Regions from separate parts of the Homo sapiens genome. Here region 1 is linked to region 2. The links are contacts of gene promoters, found by promoter capture Hi-C in blood cells and fetal thymus (Javierre and others, 2016). All regions are on one chromosome and are shown on one strand. The core of a region is centred on a gene start or on the middle of the fragment in contact, and the rest is flanking DNA. Distances in the headings are between cores, read along the strand shown.

Region 1 (3,253 bases), core at 665-3,164, 260 kb before region 2:
ACAACATCTTCCAAGGTAACTTTAAAAAGACAGGGGTGGGGCACCTGGAGGGGAACTATGCTGACAGTCATTAAGGCGTTATTCCACATGGCAGGCCATGGGGAAGGCTTCACTGCCTGAGTCCAACAAGCCTGCGTCCCCTTCCTCCTTCAGCCACAAGCACGGCCAAGCACAACAAAGACTGGGACGGTTGAGGTGCCTGATACCTTTAAGTGTCTAAGCTGAACCTCACAGTCTGATAATTAGTTGTCACTGTTCTGTGGGGCTCTATTTTTAGTTTTGATATCACTTGCTTTAGAAGCTAATATCTCTTGTACATTTTCATGACATACCTGTGCCCTAGTTCATCCCTTGTTCTGTCTAAACCAGTTTCCACAAAACTGCAGAGGCCACCTGTCATGGACCAGTGACTTCCAGCACTGGCTTGTCCTCTTGGCTGAGAAAGTCCAATGGTTCCCAGCCCAAGTATCAACAAAAAGGTGCAAATAGTCCCTTCCCCTTTCCCAAGTGTCCCCAGTTTCTTTCTATCTGACACATAATTATCTCAGAGACAGCCTCAGGAACAAAGTGGGTTCCTCACACCTTATGGCTCTTCACTCTCAAATAGCAGCGATGCAGAGGGCAAGGCCAATAGCCTACTATAGGCAGATGCAGTGGAGAAAATGTCGCCAAGGAAAACCAGCCTGCAGTCCTCTTAGTCTCCAACCCAGGCTCTGTGATAGTTGTTTTGTAAGATTATAAAGGTGATCCCAGAGGAAAATAAAAAACATTACATTACAGAAAAAAGGCAGGGAGGAAAGGAAAATGGAAGGGAAAGGAAAAATGGGAAGGAGGAAAGAAGGAAGGAAGGAAGGAAGGAAGGAAGGAAGGAAGGAAGGAGGGGACTTATGGTTTAAATGGTTTAAAAGACTGGTAGCGGGTAAGGGAGGAAGGGGCTAGCAAAGCCTCTTTTCCCCCTTGAACCCCAGGGTTTATTTCCCAGTCTTTCAGAAACCAATACACGTGTCCCCAGACCTGAGCCTTTCACATCACTCAAGGTTCAGCGCCCTTGAAAATATTCATATTTTCCTAAGCCAGGATGGACAATGGGCCAAAGTTCCAAGGAGGAGCAACCTTTGTGAGCCCCGCATCTCTACTGGGTATAACTTGCAAAAAGATAAAAGCATTTTATGCAAAAGATTTTTGAGACCAAGCTATACATTCTTATTTCAAGTGCAAACGTCCACTCCAGCTGCCACTAGAGACTGAGAGGTGAGAGATGCAGGAGGCTAGAGGGCCAGAAGCTGCTTTTCTGAGGAAGATTAATTTCACAAGATATTACAAAGCATTAAAAAAAAAAACTAGAGACTAAGAACATGATTTCCCATGAGTGTGACTATAGGTCTCAGGTTCTTTGAAATGATCTATTTAATTTTCCAAAACAAACGGAAGTGAATGAAAATTTAACTCTGTTCTCTAAATTTAATTGAAGGATTCAGGGTGTCAAATTATTTTCAAACAGAGATCCCTACTGAGAGCAATTGCTATGTGTTTTACAAATTAGGAGATTCAAGCTTACAAGTTGCTGATATGCCAGGCGCCCTGACCGTGCTGGAATTTCAACTTGATAACAATAGAGAAAAACTGATCCGTCCTCAGGACTGGCCTATATTTACTCCAAAATATTGTCCGGGGCCTAATAATCCTGGAAATTATAAGAAGCTATGGTAGTGAGATGCAGACATTCTTACCTAGGAAAAAAAATTGTAGGAGAGGGTAACATTTTTTTAACAAGTAAGTTTGAATGAGACCTTTACATTAACATTATTAATGCTTTTTCATTTGTACCCTACAACTGCAATATTATTTTTCTGGGCTTTTTTTTTTTCCTACTGAGAAAGTGCCAGATATTGGGGGCCTTGGGGAAATTTACATCCAGGTCCCCACAGCTGGGCTGCCATCTCCTCAATCTCCTCAAGGCCCCCAATATCTGTCACTATATCTCCTATTAACTGTCAATTTGGGGGTTTTACCAGAAGGACAATAAAAAAGTCAATACTAAAATTGTAGACTACATTTCTCAGGATCAAATGGCATCCTAAGTAAATGTCACTTTAATAGGAAGCTAAAATGGATGTATCCATTTTAAAGAGGAAAATATAATGTAAATTGTGTGTGAGTAGGGTAATGAATTCATTCATTTCCCCTGGCAATCTGTGCCTACAACTCTACAATTCTGTGAACACAGCTCTGGGAGAGCTCTCTTGGGGAGCTGTTATGACACAGCTAGCTGAGCTAAGCTTCCTGTGTTTTCAAATTGTTTATTATTCTGATTTAACCTAAGACTTTTGTTAGTGCTGTACATCCTGTGGGATTTTTTCTGTCTTTATTTGTGTATCTCAGTGATTTTCATGGTACACCTCTTCTTCCACTACACTCCACGAAGTGAAGAGTTAGTCCACCAAGGTGTTAATGCATCTGAAAAAACAATGGCACGTGGCAGTGGCTGTAACAAATGTGTGCCCATTGCTTTATCATCTACAAAGTCTTTCATAAGGATTCTCTCGTTTAAACCTCACAACAGCCCACTAGAGTAGGAACTGTTAAACTTTCCCATTTTATAGTGGAGGAAAATGAGGATTCTAGAGGAGGCATGACTTGCTTAGGATCACAGAGTAGCTGGGAGCTTGTTGCCTTTTGATCTCTCGTCCTCCACCAAGTGGGGCATGCAGTGTAATGGAAGCCAAGTAGCATCTAAGAAAAGTGGATGAATCCCCACTTCACTTAGGTTCATGGGACTGAGGCAAAAATCAGCGTGACCAGGGGCTGTTCTGCTTTGACTCACCACTCAGGATAGATCGGCACAGCCTCACAAGAACAGGTGGGTCGTTTCTAGGCCTCCACTCCTGGCAGGGATGTAGCTGTCCACTGCAAATGAGGGCGAGCCGATCCTTCAGTTGCATCCCATGCTGTCAACCAACCTGCCTCTCTGTCTGCCTTCAGTGGAGAGGCTGACCCTGTCCCGAGTCTCAGGTGTGCAACAACACCAGCTGCCCTCTTTCCCTTTGGACTTCTGGTCTCTATGAACAACTCTTGGCACTTTATCCTAGAGTTACTTTGAGCAAGGTCCTCAAACTTCCTGAGTCTGAACTTTCTCATCTATAACTGATAGTAATACTATCGACCTCCCATGGTTCTTAAGGACAACCTGTTGGGTCTGTTTGCCTAACGCAATGTAAGAAACCCCTGTCTGTGAAGAATTAATGACCTAATT
Region 2 (3,025 bases), core at 153-2,652:
GACATTGCAGAGAATAGATCTACAGACTTAAAACCAGAGTTAAGATATCTCTTGTTCTTATATTCCCTAACTGCATAACTTTAGATAAGTCATTTCACCTCTCTGAGCCCTCCTTGTTTCATCTGTGAAAATAATATAGTTAATACAATAATTAATAACATAGTTAATACTAATAGCTAACACATACTGAGTTCTTACCATGTAGCAGTAACTAATGTTTTATGTTTGTCAATTTATAAATAAGGCTTAGATCAAACATCCTCTCCAAGTAATGGTGACCTGATACCTGATTGTAGGCCGTTTGACTCATACTTAACACCATGTAGCACTTACCTCCCAGAGCCTATGAAAATGAAATAATAATCGGTATTTGGCTAATTTGTACTGAGTACTCATACGCTCCAGGCCCTCGTCTAACCCTCCCTTGGACGATATTAACTCATTTATCTTATAACCACCCTAGGAAGTATTATTATCATTATCTCGCAGGCCTTAAAACGGCCTCAACAAGTAAAATTGCTGAAGGACCAACAGTGGCACAGTCAGGATTGGAACCCAGGCAGTGTAACTGCAGAGCGTGGCTTAGTTTCAGCACTGTACTAGATTAATTGAACTAGACTAGGTTCTGTAACTGCAGAATCCCGGATCTCCGAGTCAGCTAGCTCACTAGGGTCGGTGCACACCCGCGCCCACTCGGGGTGGCTTCATTGCCAGAGCCACTGACTCCCAAAACAAAACGAATCTTCTACAATTAGCTCTATGTGTATCTTTGGGATGTTATCTTTCTCGGGCCACAACTAGGAACCCTGAAAGCCGACTATGACTCCAGTGAAACTATTTGGCCCTAAGAAGGGTGATTGTCTAAACATCTTCACAACGGATTTACACTGAAATTGTAACACGCACTTGATTGGAACCCCACACCACAGGCAGTCCCAGGAATTTGTACCCGCCCCGGTCCCGGACCGCGCCCCTGGACAAACCCTCCGGCCCGCCCCTCCGGATTGAGCCCCAAGACTGTCCCCGGACCACCATCCTAAGACCACTCCCTGAACTGCCCCCCCCAAGACCGCCCCCTAGATCGCCCCCCGGGACCGCCCTCTCTAGACCGCCTGCGAGACTGTCCCCGGACCGCCCCCTGGACCACCCCCTAGGCGGCCCCCCGAGCTGTCCCTGGACCGCCCTCTAGACCGCCTCCCGCCCCCTGCATCCTGGGAATCGTAGTCCCAATCCTGCTCTGGAACTAGCAGTGCGGCCTGCTCGGGCCAGCTCCGCCTCTATCTGGCGCCAGCCTAAAGGTCCCGCTTCTAATCCCATCATCTCTCCATACCGCCCTCTGCCGGCCTTTCCTCTGGTCGCCCGGATTGCGAGCCGCTTCCGGACGCTCCGGAAGCGAACCTTTCTTTTCCGGATTGGGCATCCCGGCATCTGCACGTGGTTATGCTGCCGGAGTTTGGGCCGCCACTGTAGGAAAAGTAACTTCAGCTGCAGCCCCAAAGCGAGTGAGCCGAGCCGGAGCCATGGAGGGCCAGAGCGTGGAGGAGCTGCTCGCAAAGGCAGAGCAGGACGAGGCAGAGAAGTTGCAACGCATCACGGTGCACAAGGAGCTGGAGCTGCAGTTTGACCTGGGCAACCTGCTGGCGTCGGACCGGAACCCCCCGACCGGGCTGCGGTGCGCCGGACCCACGCCGGAGGCCGAGCTACAGGCCCTGGCGCGGGACAACACGCAACTGCTCATCAACCAGCTGTGGCAGCTGCCCACGGAGCGCGTGGAAGAGGCGATAGTGGCGCGGCTGCCGGAGCCCACCACACGCCTGCCGCGAGAGAAGCCTCTGCCCCGACCGCGGCCACTTACACGCTGGCAGCAGTTCGCGCGCCTCAAGGGCATCCGTCCCAAGAAGAAGACCAACCTGGTGTGGGACGAGGTGAGTGGCCAGTGGCGGCGGCGCTGGGGCTACCAGCGCGCCCGGGACGACACCAAAGAATGGCTGATTGAGGTGCCCGGCAATGCCGACCCCTTGGAGGACCAGTTCGCCAAGCGGATTCAGGCCAAGAAGGAAAGGGTGGCCAAGAACGAGCTGAACCGGCTGCGTAACCTGGCCCGCGCGCACAAGATGCAGCTGCCCAGCGCGGCCGGCTTGCACCCTACCGGACACCAGAGTAAGGAGGAGCTGGGCCGCGCCATGCAAGTGGCCAAGGTCTCCACCGCCTCTGTGGGGCGCTTTCAGGAGCGCCTCCCCAAGGAGAAGGTGCCCCGGGGCTCCGGCAAGAAAAGGAAGTTTCAACCCCTTTTCGGGGACTTTGCAGCCGAGAAAAAGAACCAGTTGGAGCTGCTTCGTGTCATGAACAGCAAGAAGCCTCAGCTGGATGTGACTAGGGCCACCAATAAGCAGATGAGGGAGGAGGACCAGGAGGAGGCCGCCAAGAGGAGGAAAATGAGCCAGAAGGGCAAGAGAAAGGGAGGCCGGCAGGGGCCTGGGGGCAAGAGGAAAGGGGGCCCGCCCAGCCAGGGAGGGAAGAGGAAAGGGGGCTTGGGAGGCAAGATGAATTCTGGGCCGCCTGGCTTGGGTGGCAAGAGAAAAGGAGGACAGCGCCCAGGAGGAAAGAGGAGGAAGTAATAGTTTCTAACTGTCGGACCCGTCTGTAAACCAAGGACTATGAATACTAAATGTTAAGTTCTAGGCAATTATACGGGGACTCAGAAGGACCTGGCCGCTGCCTTCATTGAGTTTAAAGGGACAGGATTGCCCTTCCGTCAAGAAAGTATGTAAGTGTTGGACTGCACAAATTAATGTTTTTCCCACAACCGAGACTTTGGAGATTAAGAACTTATTTGAGGATTTAAGAATTAGGGAAATAATTTGGTGGAAACCGGGAATGAGTTCTATTCTTAAACAGCCTTTTTTTTTCTTTTTAATGTTGGATATACGGCGAGGTAGAGTTGGCCATATTTCAGAGACTTAGATTGACGTATATGTTTCTGCATTATTTTTACAACAAGTTTGTGTATCAGAGCGGGAGTGCG

Evidence for each region. Contacts are between HindIII fragments. The CHiCAGO score rates a contact against its expected background, and 5 or more counts as called.
Region 1: a fragment that was not itself captured here is called in contact with the fragment with the promoter of RRS1 in region 2 in 1 of 17 cell types (M2 macrophages); the score reaches 5.4 in M2 macrophages.

Annotation. Positions count from the first base shown.
Region 1 is chr8:66,164,097-66,167,349 of GRCh38, forward strand. The region is part of intron 9 of TRIM55 (tripartite motif containing 55); the gene reads left to right. Among named protein-coding and RNA genes, the nearest start is that of CRH, 13 kb to the right of the region's middle. The HindIII fragment of the contact is 726 bases long and covers 1,552-2,277 here.
Region 2 is chr8:66,427,612-66,430,636 of GRCh38, forward strand. It overlaps RRS1 (regulator of ribosome synthesis 1), which reads left to right and starts at 1,403. Exons shown (of 1, transcript NM_015169.4): 1 at 1,403-3,025. The coding sequence starts at 1,521. The coding sequence ends at 2,618. RRS1-DT (RRS1 divergent transcript) reads right to left here and starts at 1,366. Exons shown (of 3, transcript NR_040434.1): 1 at 1,331-1,366. All of the region lies in intron 1 of LOC102724687 (a long non-coding RNA gene), which reads right to left. RefSeq lists enhancers at 792-861, 1,282-1,651, 2,921-2,970 and a silencer at 1,052-1,141. The HindIII fragment of the contact is 6,678 bases long and covers 1-3,025 here.